4 separate regions of the Homo sapiens genome follow, and all the other regions are linked to region 4. Evidence: promoter capture Hi-C in human tissues and cell types (Jung and others, 2019). All regions are on one chromosome and are shown on one strand. Each heading gives the region's core, a stretch centred on a gene start or on the middle of the fragment in contact. The rest is flanking DNA. Distances are from core to core; before and after follow the strand shown.

Evidence for each region. The method cuts DNA at HindIII sites, captures the fragments that hold promoters and counts their contacts. A contact is called where the count stands out against the background at its distance.
Region 1: the fragment with the promoter of ZGLP1 here is called in contact with the fragment with the promoter of OLFM2 in region 4 in 1 of the 25 tissues and cell types used here (dorsolateral prefrontal cortex).
Region 2: a fragment that was not itself captured here is called in contact with the fragment with the promoter of OLFM2 in region 4 in 1 of the 25 tissues and cell types used here (dorsolateral prefrontal cortex).
Region 3: a contact is called between a fragment that was not itself captured here and the fragment with the promoter of OLFM2 in region 4, in 2 of the 25 tissues and cell types used here (pancreas and spleen).

The regions. Positions count from the first base shown.
Region 1 is chr19:10,307,331-10,314,044 of GRCh38, forward strand. ZGLP1 (zinc finger GATA like protein 1) reads right to left here and starts at 2,485. Exons shown (of 5, transcript NM_001409033.1): 1 at 2,019-2,485; 2 at 855-1,220. The coding sequence starts at 2,155. FDX2 (ferredoxin 2) reads right to left here. Exons shown (of 5, transcript NM_001397406.1): 4 at 3,523-3,610; 5 at 2,715-3,312. The coding sequence ends at 3,156. It overlaps FDX2-ZGLP1 (FDX2-ZGLP1 readthrough), which reads right to left. Exons shown (of 9, transcript NR_176052.1): 4 at 3,523-3,610; 5 at 2,019-3,312; 6 at 855-1,220. The HindIII fragment of the contact is 11,191 bases long and covers 1,065-6,714 here.
Region 2 is chr19:10,344,368-10,352,099 of GRCh38, forward strand. TYK2 (tyrosine kinase 2) reads right to left here. Exons shown (of 25, transcript NM_003331.5): 24 at 6,685-6,795; 25 at 6,166-6,601. The coding sequence ends at 6,467. Among named protein-coding and RNA genes, the nearest start is that of ICAM3, 8.6 kb to the left of the region's middle. The HindIII fragment of the contact is 7,561 bases long and covers 1-5,479 here.
Region 3 is chr19:9,620,979-9,628,529 of GRCh38, forward strand. It overlaps ZNF561-AS1 (ZNF561 antisense RNA 1), which reads left to right and starts at 504. Exons shown (of 4, transcript NR_122038.1): 1 at 504-667; 2 at 5,806-5,882. It overlaps ZNF561 (zinc finger protein 561), which reads right to left and starts at 254. Exons shown (of 6, transcript NM_152289.3): 1 at 184-254. RefSeq lists enhancers at 1-15, 164-583. The HindIII fragment of the contact is 4,441 bases long and covers 1,306-5,746 here.
Region 4 is chr19:9,931,937-9,938,553 of GRCh38, forward strand. It overlaps OLFM2 (olfactomedin 2), which reads right to left and starts at 4,579. Exons shown (of 6, transcript NM_058164.4): 1 at 4,368-4,579. The coding sequence starts at 4,430. RefSeq lists enhancers at 3,835-4,429, 5,096-5,598. The HindIII fragment of the contact is 7,550 bases long and covers 791-6,617 here.

The DNA.
Region 1 (6,714 bases), core at 1,235-3,734, 370 kb after region 4:
CCCAGCTTCCCAAAGCTTTTTTTTTTTTTTTTTTAAGGGGATGGAGTCTTGCTCTGTCACCCAGGCTGGAGTGCAGTGGTGCCATCTCTGCTCAGTGCAACCTCCACCTCCTGGGTTCAAGCGATTCTCCTGCCTCAGCCTCCCAAGTAGCTGGGATTACAGGTGCCCATTACCATTCCCAGCTAGTTTTTTTTTTTTTTTTGAGACTGAGTCCCACTCTGTGGCTCAGGCTGGAGTGAGGTGGCGCTATCTCTGCTTACTGAAGACTTCACCTCCTGAGTTCAAGCGATTCTCCTGCCTCAGCCTCCTGAGCAGCTGGGATTACAGGCACCCACTACAACGCCCAGCTAATTTTTTGTATTTTTAGTAGACATGGGGTTTCACTATGTTGGCCAGGCTGATCTCAAACTCCTGACTTCAGGTGATCTGCTCGCCTTGGCCTCCCAAAGTGATGGGATTATAGGCGTGAGCCACTGTGCCCGGCCTCCCCAGGCTTTTGAATGAGCCCATACACATAAAATACTGCCTGTTAACCTCTTATTGTTGTCACTACCAACAAATAGTAGCTGTTAGCATTATTGGGAAAAATCACCGCAGCCGCAGCTGCAGCCTAAGCAAGGCCAGGCCTGATTCCTAAAGAGACCAGGTCTCACATTGGGAGTGGGGAGCCACTGAGTCAGGAGCGGCAGGACTGTATCTGGCACCAGCTCAAGTTGTCAACCAGAGACTGGGCCACGTGTAACGTAGAGCACAGGTGAGGGTCCACACCGACGCCAGAGAGCACCCCTACCTCCCACACTGGTGTTTGCGTTGTAACTGGGAGAAAGGGCGGCCTGGCCCCAGCCGGCCCCTACCTGTACGTGGGGATGATCTGCAGGCTGGAGTCCGGCTTTATCTGAAACTTCAGAGTCACCCCCTCGAACCCAGGGTCCACTCTCTCGGTGCCCCGGCAGGGGTTCAGCTGTTTCCGGGGCCTTCTCTGGGGTGGGGCCGAGGGAGTCCCCGGGGGCTGCAGACGGCGGCCCTTTTGGCTGATCCTGGTCTGTGTGTCCTTGGAATCCCTGTCCAGCAGCAGGCGGCCCTGAGTCCCCAGAGCCATCGGGTCCCAGCAAGGCCCCAGGACCGGGGTGTCCTGGGCAGGGGACTGACCCAGCCTCTCCACTGTCTCTTGGAGGAAGCACAGGGCGGTGACCGACTCCTGGCATGCAGGCCAGAGGGACCTGGGGAGAAGGGCAGTGGGGTCACGTTTTCTTGGGTGACTCCTGGGTTTAGCCGGCCAGGGGGTTCCAACTTGGGCCGGCTCTTTGTGTACCCTTGGACAGGCTACACACCCCACCTGAGGTTCAGTCATTTCTAACTCTGGGTGGAAGGTTTAAGAGTTGCAGTAATTGCAACTCACCTCGCCCACTGTGGGCCTCCCAGGCACGCCCAGCCCTCCACATCAATCAACCCCTTACGGCACCCGTAGATCACCCAGGCAGGGACCGCCCTAGGTGACCGAGGCAGGATATCAAGCCTCTGGCTGCAGGATCGAGAAAAAGGTTACTTTTTTTCTTTGTGTTTCTTTTAGAGACCGAGCCTCACTCTGTACCCCCGCCTGGAGTGCAGGGGCGTGATCAGGACTCAGTGCAGCCTAGAACTCCTGGGCTCGACCGATCCTTCCGCCTCAGCCTCCCGAGTAGCTGGGACTTACAGGCACGCGCCACCACGCCGCTGGCTTGCCATAATATGATTACGATTTTTATCATTTTCATTATTATTGAGTTGCCCTCCATAACCCCTGGATGATCCCTGGGGAGTGCCTACATCAGCCCCAGAGACATGGAATTGCATGGCCTCTGATCCCTAGATGACCCCAAGTGTCTCTGGGCACCAGAACCTCTTTGTAAGTTTCAGTAACTATTATAAAATTGCCACTTCTCGATAACCCCAGCAAAGAGAGGTCATGACCCCTTGATCACTGAGCCAGGTGGTGAAGTGCTAGCGGGGTCCGGGGAATGGGGTTTGGCCTTACGCACCTCTCACTGATTCTGCAGCATCCTGGGGTCCTCGGCTTCTCCTGGGAGGGGGATCCTCCCAGCCGCTCCAGGTTCAGACAGGGCGGCGCCAGAAGCTTTGCTGGCATTGAGGAGTCCGGGATTGGCTCGGCCTCCATTGCGCCCCAGCCCAGCCCCCTCCCTAATTTCACCCGGCCCTGTCCCGCTGGGCCCACCCGATGAAACCCACCTGGGAGGGGCGGGACCTGTGTGGTGGGAGCGCTCTTGGTAGAGGATGCGATGAGCCCCAGCTGAGAGCGACCAGCCTCGGCGGCACCTTTCCTCTTTCTGGCTTTTTTCAGGTCATCCGCGCACCCCTGCGTGGCAAGGGCGGCCTGGACCCCACCAAATCCCTCCGCAGCTGCCGGGGCGGGGCCTTCCACGCTAGCCCTCCCCCTCGGAAATGGGGGCTCCCAGGCCTCTGCCTTGGATCCCCAGCGGCATCTTAGATCCCAGAGGGAAAAGAGAACCGGGGGCCCAGCACAGCAGATGCAGGTGTGGTTTGTTTTTGTTTTTGTTTTTTTTTTTTTTGAGACAGGGCCTCACTCTGTCACCCAGGCTGGAGTGGAATGGCCTGATCACCGCTCCACTGCAGCCTAAATCCCCTGGGCTCAAGTGATCCTCCCACCTCAGTCTCCCGAGTAGCTGGGACTACAGGCACTTACCACCACTCCACGCTAATTTTTACTGTTTTTATAGAGACGAGGTCTCGCCATGTTGCCCAGGATGGTCTTAAGCTCCTGGCCTCAAGTGATCCTCCCATCTTGGCTTCCCAAAGTGCTAGGATTACAGGTGTGAGCCACCTGTAGACCCCAGATCTGTCCCCCAAGGACACTCAACATGCTGGGGCCTGTGTTATCGATTTATTGCAGCTCCAATATGAGTCCACTCCTACTCAAACCCTGATTCTCAGGGGCCTGGGGAAGGCCACCCCACTAGGGGCCCTGTCCCCACCAGAGCCTGGACATGGGACTCTCTCCCAAGCAGGGGTGTTGTCCTTCACAGGGGCTTCCACGTCTCTCCCGGGCCTGTCCGCACTCTGGGCAGGGCTGGCACCTGGCTATTCCCTCAATCTGGGCCCTGGGGCCATGGCAATGTGGAATGGTCCAGGTGTTCATGTCAGTGGGGCTTGGGGACATGGCCATCCACGTAGAAGTTCCTGGTGATCTTGGGCAGGGTGAATTCCGCTCCTTCCAGCTCCGGTGTCAGCACAATCTGGCAGCCCAGCCGCGAGTTCTCCTGGAGGAGGGGGGCCATGTCTAGCATGTCGTCTTCCCTAGGGTGGTGACACGGGCAGTGTTAGCCGAGGGCAAGCTAGCTGGGTGGGTGGGGGGCCAGAGGTGGGGGAGGGAGGAAGCTGACTGAGCGCAGGGGGTAGTGGTGGGGGAGGCAGCTCCCATTCCAGGAACTGGAAGTGGGGAGGATGGTGGGGGCTGCTGAATGCTCCAGGGTGAAGCTGCCAGCTAGACAGGGCTGACCCACTCACCTCTCCTCGGGAGGAGGCAGGAGATCCAGGTGGTCTTCACTCACATACACATGGCAGGTGGAGCAGGCCAGGGAGGCTTCACAGGCCCCTAGGGGTGGGAAGTGAAGGGGGCGCAGGTGAGTGGCAGAGTCAGGAAGGGGCTGCTATGCGAATGGCGTAGAGGAGTAGACCTCTCTTCCACCACGTGCCTCACGTCTCCCTCCTGGGCCTGCAGCTCCACTGTGTGTACCAGGCACTGTGTCATGTCCTCAATGTCCTCAGCTAGCTGTTCCCCAGTGTGTAGGGTTTACAAACGGACATCTGGGAGGCCCCATTTCCCAGGGACTCCCTAGCAGGCTGAGATGCAGAACCATTAAGGAGCAGGGACTTGGCTGCCAGGTAGCTGAGAGGGGAAAGGCCAGGCAGGCTCCCCGCAGTCTGTGAGCCCTTGCTGTGACCCTATCACTGTGCTGGGCTAATGTGTCCCCACCTCTCCACTGCTCTTGGAGGATGGACCGGCTGACTCAGCAGTCAGTGTGGTGGGGGAAGGAATCAGGCATTAGGATTTTGTTTTTTTTTTTTTTGAGATGGAGTCTTGTTCTGTTGCCCAGGCTGGAGTGCAGTGGCACGATCTCGGCTCACTGCAAGCTCTGCCTCCCGGGTTCACGCCATTCTCCTGCCTCAGCCTCCCAAGTAGCTGGGACTACAGGTGCCTGCCACCACGCCTGGCTAATTTTTTTATATTTTTTTAGTAGAGCTGGGGTTTCACCATGTTAGCCAGGATGGTCTTGATCTCCTGACCTCATGATCTGCCCGCCTCAGCTTCCCAAAGTGCTGGGATTACAGGCGTAAGCCACTGCACCCGGCCAGGATTTTTTTTTTTTTTTTTTGAGACAGGGTCTCACTCTGTTGCCCAGCCTGGAGTGCCATGGCTCAGTCATAGCTTACTGCCTCAACCTCCCGGCTCAAGCGATCCTCCCACCCCAGCCTCCCGAGTAGCTGGGACTACATGTGCGCACCACCACACCTGGCTAATTTTTTTTTTTTTTTTTTTTTGAGGTGGAGTTTCGCTCTCTTTGCCCAGGCTGGAGTGCAATGGTATGATCTCGGCTCAATGCAACCTCTGCCTCCCAGGTTCAAGTGATTCTCCTGCCTCAGCCTCCCAAGTAGCTGGGATTACAGGTGCCCACCATCACGCCCAGCTAATTTTGTATTTTTAGTAGAGATGGGGTTTTGCCATGCTGGCCAGGCTGGTCTTGAACTCCTGACCTCAGGTGATCCACCTATCTCGGCCTCCCTAAGTGCTGGGATTACAGGTGTGAGCCACCGCACCTGGCCATATTTTTTTTTTTTTTTTTTTTTTTTGTAGAGACGAGGTTCACCATGTGGCCCAGGCTGGTCTCAAACTCCTAAGCTCAAGCAATCTGCCTGCCTTGGCTTCCCAAAATGCTGGGACTACAGGCATATGCCACTGCACCAGACCAGGAATTAGGGTTGAAAGAGACAGAACCTGAAGTTTTCTGCTGACCACCTGCCCTTGGTCACACCCCCACATCCTCTGATCACAGAGACCGGTGCTTGGGGATCATGTCCCTCCTGGCCTAAAACTTTCCAAAGGGTTTTCACACTCAGAATAAAATCCAAACTCCTTCACTTAGTCTTGCAGTTCCCCCATCCCCCTCATTCATTCCTTTGTTTTCCTTTGTAATTTTTTTCTTAGAGATGGAGTCCCGCTCTGTTGCCCAGGCTGGACTGCAGTGGCGTGATCTCGGCTCACTACAAGCTCCGCTTCCCGGATTCACGCCATTCTCCTGCCTCCGCCTCCCAGAGCAGCTGGGACTACAGGCGCCTGCCACCATGCCTGGCTAATTTTGTTTTTGTATTTTTAGTAGAGACAGGGTTTCACCATGTTAGCCAGGATGGTCTTGATCTCCTGACCTCGTGATCCGCTCGCCTCAGCCTCCCAAAGTGCTGGGATTACAGGCGTGAGCCACCACACCTTGCCAGGCCACTTACCTCTACTAGCCCGGCACAGTGGCTCATGTCTGTAATCCCAGCACTTTGGGAGGCCAAGGCAGGCAGATCAACTGTGGTCAGGAGTTTGAGACCACCCTGGCCAACATGGCGAAACCCCATCTCTATTAAAAATACAAAAACTTAGCCGGGCATGGTGGCAGTTGCCTGTAATCCCAGCTACTCGGGAGGCTAAGGCAGGAGAATCACTTGAACCCTGGAGGTAGAGGTTGCAGTAAGCCAAGATCATGCCATTGCAGTCCAGCCTGGGTGATAGAGCGAGACTCTGTCTCAGATAAATAAATGAACAAATAAATCTATCTCACATTCCAATCCCTGTCCTAGACTATTGGCTGCTGGATTCCAGAACAGAACTTTAGGTAGGCCTTTCATAACCCCTCCCAACATATCTTCCCCTTTAATGATAAAATCAGGATCCCTGATATATTCATCCCAAAAGCAAACCCTATATATTTTCTTCCAGACAACCCTTCCCAAGTTGGTCATAATTATGTATTTACCTGTGGGATTATTGTCCCTATTAGACCGAAATGGATGTGAGATGACAGAGGCCTTATTTGTTTTGTATATTGCTGCCTGACGCGCAGTAGGTATTCATAGAAAGGCAGCACAGATTAGTGGCTACAATGGACTGGTGAGTCTAGTATTGTCACTCACTTGCCCTTAGACCAGGTCTACTTAACCTGGGGTTTAGTTGCCTCATCTATAATAGGGAATAACAGTCTCTACTACTCAAGTTGTCATGAAGATTCAGTCAGTGAATATTTATTAACATGGTTAAAGACATATATATATATATATATATATTTTTTTTTTTTTTTTTTTTTTTTTTTTTTTTTGAGACAGTCTCACTCTGTCGCCCAGGCTGGAGTGCAGTGGCGTGATCTTGGCTCACTGCAAGCTCCACCTCCCGGGTTCATGCCATTCTCCTGCCTCAGCCTCCCGAGTAGCTGGGACTACAGGCGCCCACCACCACGCCCACCTAATTTTTTGTATTTTTATTAGAGACGGGGTTTCACCATTTTAGCCAGGATGGTCTCTATCTCCTGACCTCGTGATCCGCCCGCCTCGGCCTCCCAAAGTGCTGGGATTACAGGCGTGAGCCACCGCGCCTGGCCTTTTTTTTTTGTTTGTTTGAGACAGAGTCCCGCTCTGTCATGCAGCCTGGAGTGCAGTGGT
Region 2 (7,732 bases), core at 449-2,948, 410 kb after region 4:
TCCTGCCTCAGCCTCCCAAGTAGCTGGGATTACAGGCGTCTGCCACCAGGCTTGAGCTACCACGCCCAGCCAAAAGAGCATATATTATGTATAGAAATAATAAGACGAGCCAGGTGCGGTGGCTCATGCCTATAATCCCAGGACTTTGGGAGGCTGAAGCGGATGGATCACCTGAGGTCAGGAGTTCGAGACCAGCCTGACTAACATGAGGAAACCCAGTCTCTACTAAAAATACAAAAAATTAGCCAGACATGGTGGCTCGTGCCTGTAATCCCAGCTACTCAGGAGGCTGAGGCCGGAGAATCACTTGAACCTTGGAGGAGTTTGCAGTGAGCCGAGGTCACACCATTGCACTCCAGCTTGGGCAACAAGAGAGAAACAACGTCTCAAAAACAAACAAACAAACAAACAAAACCCAAGAAATAATAAGACCATTTGGAATTACTGGACTAATAGAATAGTTAAGGTTTCTTATAGAGGCAATAAAATGTATTTTGAAAGAGCTGCTAACTATTGATGCTGACAGTATTTCATTCCTGTGAGTGACTCAAGCATATTATAAATAGCTAGTAAAAGCCTGGCCAACATGGCAACTAAAAATACAAAAAATTCACCGGACGTGGTGGCGCATGCCTGTACTTACAGCTACTTGGAAGACTGAGGCCCAAGAACCGACTGAGCCCTGGAGGCCGAGGTTGCAGTGAGCCGAGATCATGCCACTGCACTCCAGCCAGGATGACAGAGGAGAGAGACTCCGTCGCAAAAATAAAAATAAATAAATAAATAAATACCTCGTAAAGGGAACGGAGCCTGTGGGGTTGAGCAAAATGTACTAGCTGTGCCTGCAGTGAGTATAACAGCTTTACGATTATGAGGAAACAATTTTTTCTTTTCTTTTTTTTTTTTTGAGATTAAGTCTTGCTCTGTCGCCCAGGCTGGAGTGCGGTGGCACGATCTCGGCTCACTACAACCTCCACCTCCCAGGTTCAAGTGATTCTCCTGCCTCAGCCACCCAAGTAGCTGAGATAACAGGCGCCCGCCACCACACCCAGCTAATTTTTGTATTTTTAGTAGAGACAGGGGTTTCACCATGTTGGCCAGGCTGGTCTTTAACTCCTGACCTCAGGTGATTCACCCACCTTGGCCTCCCAAAGAGTTGGGATTACAGGCATGAGCTACTGCGCCCGGCCCCAGCCAAAATTTTTAATAGCAATGCAGAAAAAGAAGAAAACATGACAGGCGCAGTGGCTCATGACTGTAATTCCAGCACTTTGGGAGGCTGAGGCGAGCAGATCACCTGAGGTTAGGAGTTCGAGACCAGCCTGGCCAACATGGCGAAACCCCATCTCTACTAAAAATACAAAAATTAGCCAGGCGTACTGGCCCCACGCCTGTAATCCCAGCTACTCAGGAGGCTGAGGCAGGAGAATCACTTGGACCCAGGAGGCAGAGGTTGCAGTGAGCCGACATCGTGCCACTGCACTCCAGCCTGGGCGACAGAGCAAGGCTCCATCTCAAAAAAAAAAGTCAACAAGACAAACAACCTAGTTTCATCCACAAATATGTTGCAAGGGGGCAAAAGACAGAAAGAGGAACCCACAGACCAAAAGAGACGTAAGAAAACTGGCCTCGAGCAAATGCAATTGGGGACTTTGTTTGTATTTTTATTTATTTTTATTTTTTATTTTATTTTATTTTTTGAGATGGAGTTTCACTCTTGTTGCCCAGACTGGAGTGCAATGGCACAATCTCAGCTCACTGCAACCTCCGCCTCCTGGGTTTAAGTGATTCTCCTGCCTCAGCCTCCTGAGTAGCTGGGATTACAGGCACACGCCACCGCATCCGGCTAATTTTTGTATTTTTAGTAGAGATGGGGTTTTGCCATGTTGGCCATGTTGGTCTTGAACTCCTGACCTCAGGTGATCCGCCTGCCTTGGCCTCCCAAAGTGCTGGGATTACAGGCGTGAGTCACTGTGCCCGGCCCTGTATTTTTATTTATTTTATTTTTTCAGAACTAAAAGAGACTTACAGAAAACTGGCCTCAACCAAACGCAATTGGGGACCTTGTTTGTATTTTTATTTTTTTATTCAGAACTAAAAATAAATGATCTATTGGGCGGGTGTGGTGGCTCATACCTGAAAGCCCAGCACTTTGGGAGGCTGAGGTAGAGGGATCATTTAAGCCCGGGACTTCATCAACCTGGGTAACATGGAGAAACTTCGCCTCTACAAAAAATACAGAAATTAGCTTAAGCGTGGGAGGCGGAGGTTGTAGTGAGCAGAGATTGCGCCACTGCACTCCAGCCTGGATGACAGAGCAAGACTCTGTTTCAAAACTATGGGGACAGTAAATAACAGATCAGCAGTTGCCAGGGGTTAGTGAGAAGAGAGGGATGAACAGGCAGCGCATGAATGACGTTTAGCGCAGTGAAACTACTCCATGTGATACTATATTGGTGGGTTCATGCCTTATACGTTTGTCCAGCCCCACAGAACGTACAACAGCAAGAGTGAACCCTCATGTAAAGTACAGACCTCAGGAGAAAATGATATGTCAGTGGAGGTTCATAGATTTTTTTTTTCAGACAGAGTCTTGCTCTGCCGCTCAGGCTGGAGTGCAGTGGCATGATCTTGGCTCACTGCAACCTCCACCACCACCTCCTGGGTTCAAGCAATTCTCTTGCCTCAGCCTCCTAAGTAGCTGGGAGTACAGGTGCCTGCCACCATGCCTGGCTAGTTTTTGTATTTTTAGTAGAGATGGGGTTTCACCATGTTGCCCAGGCTGGTCTCGAACTCCTGACCTCCCAAAGTGCTGGAATTACAGGCATGAGTCACCGAGGTTCATAGATTCTAACACATGTATCACTGTGGTACAGGATAGGTCAGCAAGGGAGGTTGTGCAGGGGGATGGGAGGGAGGGGATATAGGAGAACTCTGTATTTTCCACTCAACTTTGCTGTAAACCTAAAACTGCTCTAAACAAATTGAGTGGTTATCCTACTACTCAAGAGGCTAAGGTGGGAGGATCACTTGAGCCCAGGAGTTTGAGACCAGGCTGGGCAGCAGAGTAAGACGCTGTGTCTACAAAAAATTTTAAAATTAGCCAGATGGCCAGGCATGGTGGCTCACACCTGTAATCCCAGCACTTTCGGAGGCTGAGGTGGGTGGATCACCTGAGGTCAGGAGTTCGAGACCAGCCTGGCCAACATGGTGAAATCCTGTCTCAACTAAAAATACAAAAATCAGCCAGGCGTGGTGGCGGGCGCCTGTAATCCCAGCTACTGGGGAGGCTGAAGCAGGAGAATCGCTTGAACCCTGGAGGTGGAGGTCGCACTGAGCCTAGACCGTACCATTGCACTCCAGCCTGGGTGACATAGTGAGACTCCCTCTCAAAAAAAAAAAAAAAAAAAAAAAAAAATTAGCCAGGTGACGTGGCAGGAGCCTATAGTCCCAGCTCCTACAGAGGCTGAGGTGGGAGGATCACTTGCGCCTGGGAGGTCAAGGTTGCCATGGGCTATAATAGCACCACTGTACTCCAGTGTGGGTGACAGAGCGAGACCCAGTCCCCAGCCCCACAAAAGAAGTCCTTCTGGGGATATTTAACTGCCTTTCACAAATGTGTCTGACCCACCATCTCAAGTCACACAGGCTAAGTAGAAACGCTTTGCCAAACACCAGAATAACAATAATACCTTTTTCTTTTCTTTTTTCAGACAGTCTTGCTCTATCGCCCAGGCTGGAGTGCAGTGGTGCGATCTCAGCTCAATGCACTCTGCCTTCCAGTTCAAGCAATTCTCCTGCCTCAGCCTCTAGAGTAGCTGAGATTACAGGTGTGTGCCACCACACCTGGCTAATTTTTGTATTTTTTTCCTCAACAAGAACAAACTTGGTAAATAACGATGATTGTTCATGGTTTCAGACTCCTTTTTTTTTTTTTTTTTTTTAAGTTCCAGGGTACATGTGCACAATGTGGTTTGTTACATAGGTATACATGTGCCATGTTGGTTTGCTGCACCCATTAACTCATCATCTACATTAGGTATTTCTCCTAATGCTATCCCTCCCGCAGGCCCCTACCCCACAACAGACCCCGGTGTGGGTGTGTGTTGTTCCCTGCCATGTGTCCAAGTGTTCTCATTGTTCAGTTCCCACCTATGAATGAGAACATGCGGTGTTTGGTTTTCTGTCCTTGTGATAGTTTGCTGAGAATGATGGTTTCCAGCTTCATTCGTGTCCCTGCAAAAGATATGAACTCATCCTATTTTATAGCTGCATAGTATTCCATGGTGTATATGTGCCACATTTTCTTAATCCAGTCTATCATTGATGGACATTTGGGTTGGTTCCAAGTCTTTGCTATTGTGAATAGTGCCGCAATAAACATACGTGTGCATGTGTCTTTTTTTATTTTTTTTTGAGACAGAGTTTTGCTCTTGTCACCCAGGCTGGAGTGCAATGGCTTGATCTTGGCTCATGGCAACCTCTGCCTCCTGGGTTCAAGTGATTCTCCTGCCTCAGCCTCCCAAGTAGCTGGGATTACAGACGCCTACCACAATGCCCAGCTAATTTTTGTATTTTTAGTAGACAAGGGTTTTGCCATGTTGGGCAGGCTGGTCTCAAACTCCTGACCTCAACTGATCCGCCCGCCTTGGCCTTTCAAAGTGCTGTGCTGGGATTACAGGCGTGAGCCACTCTATCCAGCCAACTTCATTTTTAAAATTTTTATTTTAAAATAATATAGGCTAGGTGTAGTGGCTCACGCCTGTAATCCCAACACTTTGGGAGGCCGAGGCGGGCAGATCACCTGAGGTCAGGAGTTTGAGAGCAGCCTGACCAACAAGATGTAACCCCGTCTCTACTAAAAATACAAAATTAGCCGAGTGTGGTGGCGTGCGCCTGTAATCCCAGCTACTCCGGAGGCTGAGGCAGGATAATCGCTTGAACTCAGGAGGGGGAGGTTGCAGTGAGCCGAGATAGCACCATTGCACTCCAGCCTGGAGAACAGTGAAACTGCCTCAAAAATAAATAAACAAATAAATAAATAAATAAAAATACGGACAGGATCTCCCTATGTTGCCCAGGCTGGTCTCGAACTCCTGGACTCAAGGGATCCTCCTGCCTCAGCCTCCCAAAGTGCTGGGGTTACAAGCAATGAGCCACTGCATCCAGTCAACAATAATATTGTATATTTATTTATTTAATTATTATTTTTTTGAGACAGAGTCTTTCTCTGTCACCCAGGCTGGAGTGCAGTGGTGCAATCTCGGCTCACTGCAATCTCCGCCTCCTGGGTTCATGACATTCTCCTGCCTCAGCCTCCCGAGTAGCTGGGACTACAGGCACCCGCCACCACGCCCGGCTAATTTTTTTGTATTTTTAGTAGACGGGGTTTCACCGTGTTAGCCAGGATGGTCTCAATCTCCTGACCTTGTGATCCTCGTGGCCTCCCAAAGTGCTGGGATTACAGGCGTGAGCTGCCGTGCCCGGCCAATATTGTATATTTATTAAGCACTTGTTTGCATGTCTTTCTGCTCAGCATTTCACAGACACCACCTCATGAGCTCTTTACATGAGTCCTATGAGATAGCAAGTGTGAAGCTCCCATAATGGAGGACTAAGGCCCAGAGAGGTGAAGCCATTAGCCTGAGGTCACACAAATGTGAAAGGGTGAAACTGGCAGTCTAATCTATGTGGCTTGTGACCGCCCCGACCAAATACTTTGTGTATTCAACAAGTAGTTATTGGCCAGGCGCAATGGCTCACACCTGTAATCCCAGCACTTTGGGAGGCGGAGGCAGGTGGATCACCTGAGGTCAGGAGTTCAAGACCAGCCTGGCCAATAAGGTGAAACCTCAACTCTACTAAAAATACAAAAAATTAGCCAGGCATGGAGGCGGTCACCTGTAGTCCCAGCTACTCGGGAGGCTGAGGCAGGAGAATGGTGTGAACCCAGGAGGCGGAGCTTGCAGTGAGCCTAGATCACGCCACTGCACTCCAGCCTGGGCGACAGAGCAAGACTCTGTCTCAAAAAGAAAAAAAAAAAAAAGTTAAACAGTTGAATCCAGCCACCTCTGCGCTGTCTCATGCTAGCTGCTGTCCACAGGAGACCAGACTCCCAGCTAACCCAGCTTTCTTGAAGAGGGCTCCAAAAATCACAGGCTCCAGCAGAGAAAACATGAGTTTATTACCAGATGGTGGAGATGGTGGGCCTCAAGTTTGGAAGCTGGGGGATTTAAGGGCTGGATTAGTGCCCCTACAAATGTTGGGTCCCTCAAGATCATGGTTAGGCTCACGGCCAAGAAAGAAAAATAAGTTCACAGAGGTGGGGTCTCTAGACAGGAGTAAGGCACACGGTGTGGGTGAGGCTGACATCCCCCTCTTGGTTTCATCCTGGAGCAGGGAGCAGGAGGCTCCCTCTGCAGCCACTGCCTGGTCCAGTCCTCCCAGGCAGGGCTGCCATTGTGCCTCAGCACACGCTGAACACTGAAGGGGCCTGGCCTTGGTACTTCTCATGGACTGTCTTCAGAATGGGTATGAGGTTCTCGAAGGTTGGGCGAAAGGACGCCTCTGTCTCCCAGCAGTTCTTCATGAGATGATAGACCTAGAAGGAAAAACCAGGGCTGGTGGGGGCTGCCCTCTCCACAGCAGGATAGTGGGGTCAGGGAAAGACAAAGGAAGTCTCACCTCACAGGGACATTTGTCGGGCCGTGGCAGCCTCTCCCCTCGTTCCAGCAACTCAGTGAGTCTCAGAACTGTCATCTGACCCTGAGCAATGCCTATGAGCTCAAGGAATTTCTACAGTATAAACAAGACAAGCTCTTTTCAAGAGGCAATGAAAGGCAGGCACGGTGGCTCATGCCTGTAATCCCAGCACTTTGGAAGGCTGAGGTGGGTGGATCACCTGAGGTCAGGAGTTCGAGACCAGCCTGGCCAACATGGTGAAACCCCATCTCTACTAAAAATACAAAAATTAGCTGGGCATAATGGCAGGCGCCCGTAATCCCAGCTACTTGGGAGGCTGAGGCAGGAGGATCGTCTGAACCTGGGAGGCGGAGGTTGCAGTGAGCCGAGATTGTGCCATTGCACTCCAGCCTGGGATACAAGTGTGAAACTCCATCTCAAAAAAGAAAAAGAAATCACTCTGCAACTTCATGAAATCGACTGCATGGGTTCCAATCCCACCTCTTACACTTCTCAGCTGTGTGACTTTGAATTTGAGTTCACTTCTCTGGGCCTGTTTTCTCATCCGTAAAATAGGGTAATAACATCTGCCACCTGGGATTACTGTGAACGTTAAACTAATATTCATAGAGTAAGCGTGAGTCAGGTGTTTGCCGTTATTATTAAGCCTCACAGCAGATTGTTCTTACCGTCCAGAATTTTTTTTTTGAGACAGTCTCTCGCTCTTTCACCCAGGCTGGAGTGCAGTGGCATGATCTCGGCTCACTGCAACCTTCGCCTACCGGGTTCAAGCAATTCTCCCTGCCTCAGCCGCCTGAGTAGCTGGGATTACAGGCACCTGCCACCACGCCCGGCTAATTTTTGTATTTTTAGTAGAGACGGGGTTTCACCATGTTGGCCAGGCTGGTCTCGATCTCCTGACCTCGTGATCTGCCCGCCTCGGCCTCCCAAAGTGCTGCGATTACAGGTGTCAGCCACCGCGCCCGGCCTATGCCTTTCTTTCCTTTCTTTTCTTTCTCTCTCTCTCCGTCCTGTCCTGTCTTAGACGGAG
Region 3 (7,551 bases), core at 2,276-4,775, 310 kb before region 4:
GCAGAGGTTGCAGTGAGCCGAGAGAGCGCGCAGCCTCTCCGAACTGGACGCACAGGGAGGACTGATAGTCCCTGGAGAAGCGAGTGAAGTGAAGCGGATCTGAGAGGCTCCTAGGCGACAGCGCGCAATCATTCCTTTGCCGCCCCCTGCTATCCCCGGGACCGCCAAGGAGGTGGAACTCACCACAGCCTGGGCAGACTCCACCACCATAAAGGCGAAACCGCACTGACGGAGAGGAGCCAGCGCCGGAAAAGATGGCGGTGGTGCGCTGACGTCACTTCCGCTTCAACACTCTGGCCGGGCGAGGCTCGTGGGCTCCAGTTTCAGCCACGTAGGACCGGGTAGAACACAGAAATTCTAGTTTCCTCTCGGGTGGGTGCAGAAAGGGCCTGGGGTTGGCTCAGGGAGGGGGATGCAGAACTAGGTCCAGAGAAAAAGGTGAGGTTAGAACCGGGCCTCCAGACGGAACTGTGGGCGAGGGGAGGGGCTCGTACTCGGGGGGTGATTTAGAGGAGGGACCCGGCCTAGCCGGTGGTTCAGGTGGCCGGTCGGGCTGGAAGGGCGGGGATGAGGGATGGGACGCATCCCCGGGGGATGCTCCTCCAAAGCTTTTATCGGGCGAGCGCAGTGGCTCACGCCTGTAATTCCTGCACTTTGGGAGGCTAAGGTAGGTAAATAGCTTGAGTCTGCTGGGAATGGGTGCTCGCTTGGTGTCACAAAATCAACACTGAGACAAAGGATCTCAGCAAGGCTAGTTTTACTTTCTGCAGAATGGGTGCCACTGGCTGGCAGTCTTGCCACCAGAGCACACATTAACAAAGGAGACAGGGTTTTTTTAAACTTGAAGTGTCCATCCTTCTGCTGTGTCCAGCTTCCATTGGCTGGAACGGGACCTCACCTTCCTGTACTTCACTGGATTGGCTAGCAACTTAGAACTTCCCAAAAGAGGCAATGGCAGAGGAGAACAAAGGAAGAGAGGAAGTAACTTGTGGACTGTTGAGAGAGGCAAAAACACTTCTAAATAGGGAAAGGAATAGGCCATGACCTAATAGTTGCTTGGACCAGTTCAGGCATGCCAGGGCAAATATCTAGGCTAAAATGTGGGAGCTAAAAACAGAGTCTATTGATTTCTTTATTACGGCTGGCAGAATTTAACAATATTACCACAGGTCTTTGAGAAAATTTGGCTTCTAAGAGGGATTACTATTTATTTCAATCAGACTGGGAGGAAAGTCCCTTTGAAGAGGAACCTGTATTTATTTCATTTTCTACAAGTCCAAGAGTTTGAGACCAGCCTGGGCAAAGTAGCAAGACCCTGTCTCTCTCTCTCTCTCTCTCTCTATATATATATATATAAACATATATGTATAAATACATATAAATATATAAATATATAAAAAATATATAAATATACATGTTCAAAATGCTTGTTCCCTGGTGCCATAAAGAAATTAGCACTTGAACATAAATTTAATTTACTCAGCAAGGCCATTTTTACTTCCTGCAGAAACGGTATACTCACCAGCAGTTTTGCCACGAGAGTACACCAAACAAAGGAGATAGGGTCATTTATAACCTGATGCTTCCAACCTACTGCTGTGTCCAGTTTCCACTGGCTGGAATGGGACCTCACGTTCTGGCTAGCAACTTATAACTTTTTAAAAGAGGCAAGGGTAGAGGAGAACAAAGGAAGGAGGAAGTAACTTGTGGAATGCTGAGAAGGGTCAAAACATCTTCAAATAAGGAAAAAGAACAGGCTATGCCCTAATGCTTGCCTGGACCAGTACAAGCATGCCAGGGCAAATATGTAGACTAAACTGTGGGAGCTAAGAATATAAAGTACATTGATTTCTTTATCACGGCTCACAGATACTTGAGAATGTTAGCACAGGTCTTTGAATAAATTTTGCTTCTAAGAGAAGTTACTATTTATTCCTAATTAAATGTGAAGGAACGTCTTTGAAGAGGAACCTCTGCTTTACTTTTTAGATATAAATATAAAGCTTGTTTGTATGCCTCTCCTCATGTTCCTAGAGCCTTTCCATGATTCTTCCATATTGATAAAGCTGCCAATGAATGGCATGGTCTATCCCTTCCATTCAGTCAGAGTTTCTGTAGGCCTTTTTTTCTTCATTCTTTATTTTTTAGAACCTGCTGATTCCATTGGGTTTTCTTTTTCTTTCTTGCTTGCTTGCTTGCTTGCGACAGATCTCACTGGATCAGACCAGGCTGGAGTGCAGTGGTGTGATCTCAGCTCACCGCAACCTCCACCTCCCAGGTTCAAGCAATTCTCCTGCCTCAGCCTCTGGAGTAGCTGGGATTACAGGCGCCTGCCACCACGCCCAGCTAATTTTTGTATTTTTAGTAGAGAACGATTTCACCAGGTTGGCCAGGCTGATCTCGAACTCCTGGCCTAAAATATCTGCCAGGCCAAGATGGTAGGATCGTTTAAGGCCAGGAGTTTAAGACAAGCCTGGGCTACACAGCAAAACCCCATCTCTCTATATATATATAAAAAAAATTTAAATTAAAAAATGTTTTGTTTTGTTTTGTTTTTTTGAGACATAGTTTCGCTCTGCCACCCAGACTGGAGTGCAGTGGTGCGATCTTCACTCACTGCAAACTCTGCCTCCTGGGTTCAAGCCATTCTTCTGCCTCAGCCTCCTGAGTAGTTGGGACTACAGGCATGTGCCACTGCGCCCAACTAATTTTTGCATTTTTAATACAGACATGGTTTCATCATATTGACCCAGCTGGTCTCAAAGTCCTGACCTCGTGATCCATCCACCTGGTCCTCCCAAAGAGCTGGGATTACAGGCATGAGCCACTGCCCCAGCCAAAAATATGTATTTCTGTTGTTATTTTTCTGATCTTACCACATGGGCCAGGAACACATTTCCTACGTTGTAAAATAGCACTGATACCAGACATTCTCCCCAAGATTATTCAGAAATGTAACATACTCCCAATAAAAATACCAAAAGTTTTTTTCTGGAGTTAAGTACATTGATACTGAAGTTTATGTGGAGGAACAAACATCTGATAATAACCAAGAAAACAAAAACAAAAGCAATGATGAGCAGCAGATATTAAAACATACTATTGACAGTTTTCATGCAAGGCAAAGAATTACATTATTTTAAAATAAAAATAAAGTCCGGGCACAGTGGCTCACGCCTGTAATCCCAGCAATTTGGGAGGCCGAGGCAGGCAAATTACCTGAAGTCGGGGGTTTGATACCAGCCTGGCTAACATGGTGAAACCCTGTCTCTACTAGAAGTACAAAAATTAGCAAGCGTGGTGGCACATGCTTGTAATCCCAGCTACTTGGGAGGCTGAGGCAGGAGAGTTGCTTGAGCCTGGGAGATGAAGGTTGCAGTGAGCCGAGATTGTGCCACTGAATTGCAGCCTGGCTGACAGAGTGAGACTCTGTCTAAAAAATTAATTAATTAATTAATTTAAAAAACATACTATAAAGCCTCTATAATTAAAACTATGTGGTACTAGCACGTGAAACAGAAACTAATAAAATATCAAAAAATAGACCCATGAACATGTAGAAATTTGGTTCATAAATGTATTTTGCCAGATGCGGTGGCTCATGCCTGTATCCTAGCAATTTGGGAGACTGAGGCAGGAGGATCACTTGAGGTCAGGAGTTCAAAACCAGCCTGCCCAACATGGTGAAACCCCATCTCTATTAAAAATACAAAAACATAGCCGGGTTCGGTGGCTCATGCCTGTAATCCCAGAACTTTGGGAAGCCGAGGCAGCCGGATCATGAGGTCAGGAGTTCGAGACTAGTCTGACCAACATGGTGAAATCCCATCTCTACTAAAAATACAAAAATTAGCTGGGTGTGGTGATGCATGCCTGTAATCTCAGCTACTCAGGAGGCTGAGGCAGGAGAATTGCTTGAACCCAGAAGGCGGAGGTTGCAGTAAGCTGAGATCGCACCACTGCACTCCAGCCTGGGCAACAGAGTGAGACTCTGTCTCAAAAAAGAAAAAAAATTTAGCCAAGCATGGCCGAGCATGCTGGCTCATGCCTGTAATCCCAGCACTTTGGGAGGCTGAGGCAGGCAGATCACGACGTCACGAGATCGAGACCATCCTGGCCAACTTGGTGAAACCCCGTCTCTACTAAAAATAGAAAAATTAGCTGGCATGGTGGCGGGTGCCTGTAATCCCAGCTACTCAGGAGGCCGAAGTAGGAGAATCGCTTGAACCCAGGAGGCGGAGGTTGCAGTGAGCCAAGATCGCTCCCCTGCACTCCAGCCTGGCGATAGAGCGAGACTCCGTCTAAAAAAAAAAAAAAAAAAATTAGCCAAGCGTTGTGGTGGGCGCCTGTAAGCCCAGCTACTCGGGTGGCTGAGGCAAGAGAATTGCTCAAACCTGGGAGGCAGAGGTTGCAGTGAGCCGAGATCACGCCATTTCACTCCAGCCTGGCGACACAGCGAGACTCTGTCTCAAAAAAAAAAAAAAAAAAAAAAAAAAAAGCCGGGTGCATTGGCTGATGCCTATAATTCCAGCACTTTTGGAGGCAGAGGCGGGTGGATCACCTGAGGTCACGAGTTAGAGACCATCCTGACCAACATGAAGAAACCCCGTCTCTGCTAAAAATACAAAATTAGCTGGGCATGGTGGCACATGCTTATAATCCCAGGTACTCAGGAAGCTGAGGCAGGAGAACCGCTTGAACCCAGGAGGCGGAGGTTGGGGTGAGTGGAGATCGTGCCATTGCATTCCAGCCAGGGCAACAAGAGAGAAACACCGTCTAAAAAAAAAAAGTGGCATTTCAGATAAATGGGGCAAAAAATGCCATTTGTAACAAATGGAAGGTCTAAGATAGCTGGTTAGCCATCTGAGAAAAGATGAAATTAAATCCATACTTCACAGCATATACAAGAATAAACTCCAAGTGGACTAGGGATCTAAGTGTAAAAAATAAAACCACACACGTATTTAGGGTGTTTAAGTGATTTCTTGGCTGAGTAAGGAAAAAGATGTTACCACAAGGCGGCAGTAGCACACAAGCTTCATTTGGGATGTGCTTTGACAGGTTAGCAGTGGGGGAGGTAGCAAACAGCAAGAGAATATCCACAGGCTTCTACCTGTGGGTCGCTGCTCAGAAAGGGTGGAAAGGAAGAAAGACTCTCAGAGGAGAAGGGGAATCAAAGAGGGGGCTTATAAATAACTAAATGATGATATTCACCAGACTGGCAGCATATCTTCCAGTTAAAAAGCTCTGAAGGATAAGTCTGGCCAATATGGTGAAACTCCGTCTCTACTAAAAATACAAAAATTAGCAGGTATGGTGCCAGGTGCCTATAATCCCAGCTACTTGGGAGGCTGAGGCAGGAGAATCGCTTGAACCCAGGAGATGGAGGCTGCAGTGAGCTGAGATTGTGCCCCTGTACTCCAGCCTGGGTGGCAGAGCAAGACCCTGCATCAGAAAAAAAAAAAAAAAAAAGCTCTGAAGGACCGCAGGGGTATGGGGTTTTCATAGCCCTGGAGTTATCTTATCTATGGCTGTCAGATATTGGATATAATTTCAGAGAATACAAAGCAGGCGCACTCGAAATGGCTAAAAATAGGCTTGTTCAGGCTATGTTTCAAACAATCCAGTGTGTTAAAATTGCAGTTTGGCAGGGGTAGGCTATTGTGAATACTAGTGAGACAAACATTGGTGTACAAATATCTCTGAGTCCCTGCTCTGAACAGTTTTGGATATGCCAAAGTGGAATATCTGGATCACATGGTAATTCTGTTTAATCGTTCTTTTTTTTTCTTTTTTTTGAGACAGGGTCTCACTCTATTGTCTAGGCTCGAATGCAGTGACGTGATCATGGATCACTGCAGTCCTCAACTTACTGGGCTCAGGTAATCCTCCCACCTCAACCTCCCAGGTAGCAGAGATTACAGGTGCATGCCACCACCATCCTTGGCTGAATTAAAAAAAATTTTTTTGTAAAGACCATATTTCACCATATGCCCAGGCTGGTCCTGAAGTCCTAATCTCAAGGAATCCCCTGGCCTCAGCCTCCCGAAGTGCTGGGATTACAGGTGTGAGCCATCACATCCAGCATGGTTTTGATTTTCATTTTCATGATGTTTAGTGATGTTGAGCATCGTTTCATGAGCATCTTTTCGTGTGTTTATTGGCCATCTGTATATCTTCTTTGGTGATATTATTCAAGTCCTTTTTCTGTATTGAAATGAGTTTTGTTGTTGTTACTCTTGGGTTCTAGAAATTTTAAAAATAAACTCTGGATATTTGTCCCCAGTCAGATACAGGACTTGCAAATATTTTCTCCCATTTGTAGATTGTCTTTTTACTCTCTTGTTATTATGCTTTGATGCACAAAATTTGTATCATTGATTAGGTTCAACTCATAATTTTTCTTGTGTTGCCTGTGTGGTTGATGTCATAACTGAGAAGTCATTTCCAGTTGAAGCTTTCTCACCTATGTTTTCTTCTAATAGTTTTCCAGCTCTAGCTCTTACACTACACTAAGGTTTTTGATCCATTTTTAAAAAATCATGCCACATTATTATTATTATTATTATTAAGATGGAGTCTTGCTCTGTCACCCAGGCTGGAGTGCAGTGGCACAATCTCAGCTCACTGCAAACTCTGCCTCCCAGGTTCAAGTGATTCTCCTGCCTCAGCCTCCTGGGTAGCTGGGATTACAGGCGCCTGCCACCATGGCCAGCTAATTTTTGTATTTTTAGTAGAGATGGGGTTTCACCATATTGGCTATGCTGGTCTCGAACTCCTGACCTTGTGATCCACCTGCCTTGGCCTCCCAAAGTGCTGGGATTACAGGTATGAGCCACCACGCCCATCCTTCATCCATTTTAAGTAAATTTTTATATATGGTATAAGGTTAGGGTCCAACTCCATTCTTATGTATGTCTATATCTCAGTTCCTCCCCCATATAATCCTGTCCCCAGGGAATCAACAACCCATGCTCTTCCTAGTCACCTCCTTGAACATGTCCCTCCCCCAGGAAACCTCCAACATGAGATAGAACAATGTAGAAAGGACATTCAAAACTTCCCTTTCCCTTGTTTGTCAAAGGAATCCGCCCCAACGGTTGTCCCCTTAAGGGAAGTCCCACTGGGGGGAGGGGGCATTGGTTGCATTAATGCCCTCTTAACCAGCTCAGAAGTCAGAAACTTCAAAAGGGAACTCAAACCATTGTTAGATGACCCTTATTGGGTAGCAGATCAAATTGATCAATTTTTAGGGCCACAGTTGTATACTTGGGCTGAACTAATGTCCATTTTAGATATTCTTTTCTCAGGGGAGGAAAGGACTGTGATCCACAGGGCCACTGTGATAGTCAGGGAACGTGAACATCCTCCTGGCCAAAACGTTCTGCAGCGGACCAAAAATTTCTGTTCCAAGACCCTCAATGGGACAATCACAATGCAGCTCACCAAGAAAATATGAGGGATCTCGGGGAAATGATAATTAAAGGAATTCGGGAACCAGTACCCTGAACTCAAAATATTTCCCGAGCATTCAACATACAACAAAGAAAG
Region 4 (6,617 bases), core at 3,329-5,828:
GAATCCTGTGGTTTGAGAAAGAAAGACACTCTGTGTGTGTGAGGGGGTCCATCCATCCATCCATTCATCCATTCAGCAGATATTTCTTGAGCACCTACTGTGTGTCAGGCTCTGCTCTAGACACTGGAGAAACAACAAAGCTAGCTGAACCCTGATAAACTGCCGCTCTAGTGGGGAAACAGAGAATGAATGAATAGAAGAATCATAGAAATGTGGAAACGAGGGCTATAAAGAAAAATATGGCCGGGCGTGGTGGCTCATGCCTATAATCCCAGCACTTTGGGCGGCAGATCACCTGAGGTCAGGAGTTCAAGACCAGCCTGGCCAACATGGTGAAACCCTGTCTCTACTAAAAATACAACAAAAACTAGCTGGGCATCAGGTGGCACGTGCCTGTAGTCCCAGCTACTCGGGAGGCTGAGGCACGAGAATCACTTGAACCGGTGAGGCAAAGCTTGCAGTGAGCCGAGATTGCGCCACTGCACTCCAGCCCAGGCAACAGAGTGAGACTCAGTCTCAAAAAAAAAAAAAAAAAGAAAGAAAGAGAGAGAAAGAAAAAGAACACGGAGTAAGCACTCAGAGAGTGGCAGCAGGGGGCTATTTCACTTAGCTGTTCAGGGTGAGCCTCTTGGAGGAGGTGACATTTAAGCAGAAATCAGAGATAAATAGCTACCAGGGGGAACAGTGTCACAGGCAGAGGGAACAGCAAGTGTGAAGTCCCTGAGGCACGTGATCTAAACTGAATTATTCCTTCTCCCCATCCTCTGAAAGCCCCAGGAAAGAGTTGGTCCCAAACCCAGATAGTGCCAACGATGTAGCTAGATCTTAGGGAGGCCTTCGCAGGGATCAGGAAGGCATCTTTTCCACAAGGAAAATAGTGGGGCTCAGAACTGTCAAGCTCTCTGGTAGTCACTCCCAGGCCAGAACCCAGAACATCTTGGATAGATCCTGGATGAATGGACAATGCCTCTGACAGGCCCTGCTTTCCTGTTCTCCTGCTCTCTGGGTCAAATCCAAACTTCTGCCCACAGCTTACAAGTTCCTAAGTGGTCTGGCTTCCCCGGCCTCATCTCCCCGCGACCTCTCCAGCCACACCAGCGTCCACACTGCTTCTGAAACTCACCAAGCTTGTTCTTACCCCAGGGCCTTTGCACCTTCTGTTCCTCCCACCTTCAATGCTCTTCCCCCAGACACCCACAAGGCTCCCTCTCTCACCTCCTTCAGATGTCACCTGAAACACTACTTCCTTAGAGACACCTTCCCTGACCACACTGGCTCAAATAGCCCCCACCTTGTAATCTTTTTCTGTTTTTTTGCTTTGAGACAGTCTTGTTCTGTTGCCTAGGCTGGAGTGCAGTGGCATGACCTTGGCTCACTGGAACCTCTGCCTCCCAGGTTCAAGCAATTCGCCTGCCTCAGCCTCCTGAATAGCTGGGACTACAGGTGTGCAACACCACACCTGGCTAATTTTTTGCATTTTTAGTAGAGACGGGGTTTCACCATGTTGGCCGGGCTGGTCTCAAACTCCTGACCTCAAGTGATCCACTCACCCTGGCCTCCCAAAGTGCTGGGATTACAGGCGTGAGCCTCCATGCCCGACTGCTATCACTCTAATCTTTTTTTTTTTTTTTTTTTTTTGAGACAGAGTTTCACTCTTGTTGTCCAGGCTGGAGTGCAATGGCGATCGCAGCTCACCGCAACCTCTGCCTCCCAGGTTCAAGCAATTCTCCTGCCTCAGCCTCCCTAGTAGCTGGGATTACAGGCGCCTGCCACCACACCCAGCTAATTTTTTGTATTTTTAGTAGAGACAGGGTTTCACTATGTTGGCCAGGCTGGTCTCGAACTCCTGACCTCAGGCGATCCACTTGCCTCAACTTCCCAAAATGCTGGGATTACAGGCGTGAGCCACAGCACCCGGCTCCAGTCTAATCTTCTATACTTTATCTGTTATTCTTCATGCTACTTGCATTGTATTATATGTATATTTAGTTGCCGACACCGTATTACATGGTTATTCGGCTCTTTTCTGTCTCCTCTGCTAGGTCAACTCCAGGAGAGCAGGGATTTGATGACTCAGTTGGTGGCTGTATCCCCAGTGCATAATCATATCTGTTCATTGAATGGATTAACCAATGATTTCTAGGAAGGACCCCTGGGCCCATCAGGGACAGGGAAGAAGTCTTTGGAAAGTGATGGAGGGAGCGAAGAGTGGGTAGAGCATCCTCTCTGCAGACCCCTCCCTTCCCTGGGGTGCCAGGCTTGGTGGGCCAACGCCAAGGGGGTGTATGGGGCGCCGAGACTGTTTCACAACCATGTAGTTCCCGCGGTGGCCGCCTGGAGGCACTGCAGCCCGCGGCAGGATTCCACCAGCCCCGCCCTAACGGATTACCTCATTTGGCCACGCCCCCGTTGTCCTTTAGCCCCGCCTCCACTGACCTCGTTAGTCCCGCCCCCAAAGCAACTCCCTCCCAGCCCTGGGGGCTGTAGGAGTCACCCTCCAATTGCAATTCTGGCAGCAAACTCTGGCATCCTAGCCAATCTTGGTGAGAAGCCAGAAAATCTAGTGCCCCCCTAGCAGGGAGTGGAGGAGAAGCCACAGGGGGTGGTTCTCTGTCTCCTCTGCTAGGTCAAGGATAATTCAACTTGATTCCTGGCTCATTTTTTTTCCACTGGTTTCTCAAGTGTGTGCCTCTTTTGGTCTCTCGTCTCCCAGGTGTGTCTCTTGGCTTCTCTCAGGCTCACACATCCATTGAGTACCTATTGTGTGTGTCCTCATGCCTGGGGCTGGGCACACTCCCTATCCCACCCAGCGCGTGGGTGCTGAGATGCGTGGGGAAATGGAGGAGCGAGGGAGGGGACCCCACAATCTCTCCTCGTGGCCTGGAAATCCTTCTATCTGGAGTCTAACCTCCATTCCTCCCAACACCCCCCTCGGGGTGAGCACAAGGGTCTGATTCTTTTCTTGATAAGGGGAAGGTGCCCAAATTGTTTCTCCCCTGCCTATCTACCTAAAAGCCCACCTAGCAATGTCTTCACGGACGCTGTCCACACCCATGGAGCGGATTATTTAACAAGAGGGTAATCGTGTGGGCTCAGGAGCCGGACTGCCTCGGTTCAGTCCCACCTCTGTCACTCTCGAGCTTGAGCAAGTGATTTAACTTTTCTGCGCCTCAGTTTCCCCATCCATAAAATGAGGTAACAATACCATGCTCTAGTAGGGAGGAGGCAGAGGGGGTTAAATGCCTTAGTCTGTGCTGTGTGATTGAAACAGCACCTCTCAAATTAGCACGTAATGAATGATCACTGTTATCATAATGACTATTTTATTATTTTTGATCCCAGCTTCCCTGTGAACTCCTACAGATCTGAGAACTTGGGGGTGCTCTCACTCCCAAGATGGAGGAGGAGAGGGGCTTTCCAATAGCAAAAGAGAGCGTGGACGCCCCACATTTTGCAAGCCTCCCTGAGCCTGCCCAAGAGAAAGGTGCCATGGGGAGGGAGACCCGCTTCTGTAAGGGTATGAATGGCGTGTGCGGTTGTGAGCAAGGCACCAAGATACACACACACACGTGCATGGATGGACACGTTTGCACACACAGCGCTTGCACACACACACACCCTTTTAGAGTGATTTACCCAAAGGTACAGAATAGCACACGCTCACTCCAAGGCTCTCACACGGCCACACACCTGGCCACACACGTATTGTACAACACCCAGTCATCTGGAGCCAGTAATGAGGACACGGTCACACACAGACTCTGTCTCACGTACTGATCACACCCCAACTCGGGCACTAGTTGGACAAGCCCCCCAACCGCCACACACACAAACTCCCCCCGGTCACACCCAACCACGACACAAAGACACACACGTTTACCCTGCACCCCCACAGCATTTCACACGCGTCCCCGTCAGTCACTCTCACGTGAGTCCCGTCCCCTGCCCCACACTGGGGGCTGCAGGCGAGGAGTGGAGGGCTTCAGAAACTGGGCATCTCGGCCCCGAAGAGGAAGTCAAGGGTAAGCAACCGCCCCCCTCCAATGCCCCCTGAAGTTTCCCTCCCAACCCCATTCAGCTCCAGCGAGATGGCGGGGTGGGGGCTCGGGGCCATGGAGGGGTTGAGAACCCCAAAGACGCCACCCCCCAAACCAGCCCAGCTTGAGGCTGGATTTGAAGCCCCCCTCGTCCTCTCCCAAGCCAGAGAGTGCACGTCCCGGCCCCTCCCCCGCTGCGACCCCCGCCCCTCGCCGCCCTGCAGCTGGGGGGGCTTGTGGAGCCTCCCAACCCCGTTTCTCCGGGAACCCTCCGCGCCCCCCTCCTCTCCCGGAGCCACCCGCGCCCGCACCTGCCCGCCGGGCCCCTACCTGTCCGGCCAGGCCTGAGCACAGCAGCAGCAGCAGCGGCGGCGGGACCGTGAGCGGCCACATGACGCGCCCCTAGCCCGGCGTCCCGACCCCCGCCCGCCCTAGCGGCGCCTCGGCGCGGGGACCGCCACCAGGCGCGACCCCGCCCGCCCGGCCGGGGCGACCCTGCGCCGCCGCCTCCCCCGCCTCGCCGGCGGCCGGGATTCCGCCCCACCCCCGCCCCCTCGCTCGCTCCGAGTCTTTGTTGCGGGCTCCGCCCCCCGCCCCGCCCCCAGCTCCTCTTCGGGAGCAGCTCGAGCAGGGTCGGGTGGGGGGGTGGGGGCGGGGAAGTGGGGGAGCCAGCGCCGGCGAGGGGACCTGAGGACAGGACTTGGCAGCGCCCCCCAACCCCCAGGCCATTCCGGGAGCGGGTCGCGGAGGTGGGGGAGGGGTGCCCGTCACGTGTTTGTAAATTTCACCCTCCGGGGGCATTTCCCACGTTGCAGGTGGGACGGGGACGAATGGTTGGGGGAGAGGAATAGGAGGAAGGCCTGGTAGCAGAGAGGGGAAATGATGAACGCCCCCTCCCTAAAAACTCAAGAGTCAACAGGGAAACTGAGGCAGAATCTGAAATTGGAAGTTGGAGGAGGGGTCAATGCCAGGACAAGAGGGGTGAGGCATAGATGGAGACGGGGAATAAGAGGAAAAAATTGAGGTTGGGGGGACAGGAGACCGAGAATCAGGCAAGAGGCCAATGGAAATGGCCACGTGGGTGGGCTTGGCCTCAAAAAGGGGCGTCTCGTTTTCACTCTCCCCGGGCGCCCCATTTCCCCACCAGTCCTCCCGCTGGAAGCCTCCCCGCCTCCGCCACACCTGGAAGAGTTTCTCTTCGCTCCCTGTTTCAATAGCCCAAGATGAAAGACCACATCCCCCGAGAGAATCAAAATATTAACACCGCCTCCACGCGAAGCCATTTGCATATGAAGGGCGTCCTTGTCTAGCCTCACTTTCGGGAGGCTTTCCAGCCTTTCTCTGCCTCTCACTCCTCCAAAAGTCTCCCTAGGCCGGGCGCGGTGGCTCACGCCTGTAATTCCAGCAATTTGGGAGGCTGAGGAGGGTGGATCATCTGAGGTCAGGAGTTCAAGACCAGCCTGGCCAACATGGCAAAACCCCACCTCTACTAAAACATACAAAAATTAGCCGGGCGTGGTGGTGCATGCCTGGAATCCCAGCTACTCGGGAGGCTGAGACAGGAGAATCGCTTGAACCCGGGAGGCAGAGGTTGCAGTGAGCAGAGATCGTGCCATTGCACTCCAGCCTGGGCAACAGGAGCAAACCTTGTCTCAAAAAAAAAAAAAAAAAAAAAGTGTCCCTAGTCGTCTTTCCTCCCCACAGCCCCTCTAGGGATTCGGATATATGTAGGCAGAGGTGGAGGAGGGGGGCGGGCAAATAAGTCAGATTGGAAAGAAATCGGGCATAAAATATGCGAGGCCAGGAAGCCTGGCATTTTTGTGACCCTGATACTGTTGGGCTAGGAGGGGTCTCCCCAGACGCTGGTGGGGCCTCGACCCCAGCTGGTGTCCAGGCTCTTAACACCATCGCAAGAATGAATTCAAGGAGGAATCAGAAAATCATGAAAAGTTCGGAGATTTTTTTGTTAAGGGAAAAGTCCACACTTGAGAAAAGGGAGTGGGCGTACTTAAGAGAGAGAGATGGGCAAGGTGGTTTGGGACTGCTACCTTTATGTGTCTCTTTTTTTTTTTTTTTTTTTTTTTTTTTGAGACAAAGTCTCGCTCTGTCACCCAGGCTGGAGTGCAGTGGTGTGATCTCGGCTCACTGCAACCTCTGCCTCCCAGGTTCAAGCAATTCTCCTGCCTCAGCCTCCTGAGTAGCTGGGATTACAGGTGTGCGCCATCACAGCCGGCTAATTTTTTGTGTTTTTAGTAGAGACAGGGTTTCACCATATTGGCCAGCCTGGTCTCAAACTCCTGACCTCGTGATCCACCCGCCTTGGCCTCCCAAAGTGCTGAGATTACAGGCGTGAGCCACCACAACAGGCCACTGTGTATCTCTTTAACCAAGGGATGGAATATTCATGAAAACTGGAAAAAGGTGGACTGTGGTGCCACCCACTTTTACACCAAATTTGGGTGTCCCTGGAATTGTCAAGGGCGCTGGTGGGTGGGTAATTTTAGTATTTTAATGAGTACATAATGAGATCCTAGGTGAAACCTAGGTAGAATGTAACGCCATGTTGGGTCCAGTAGGTCT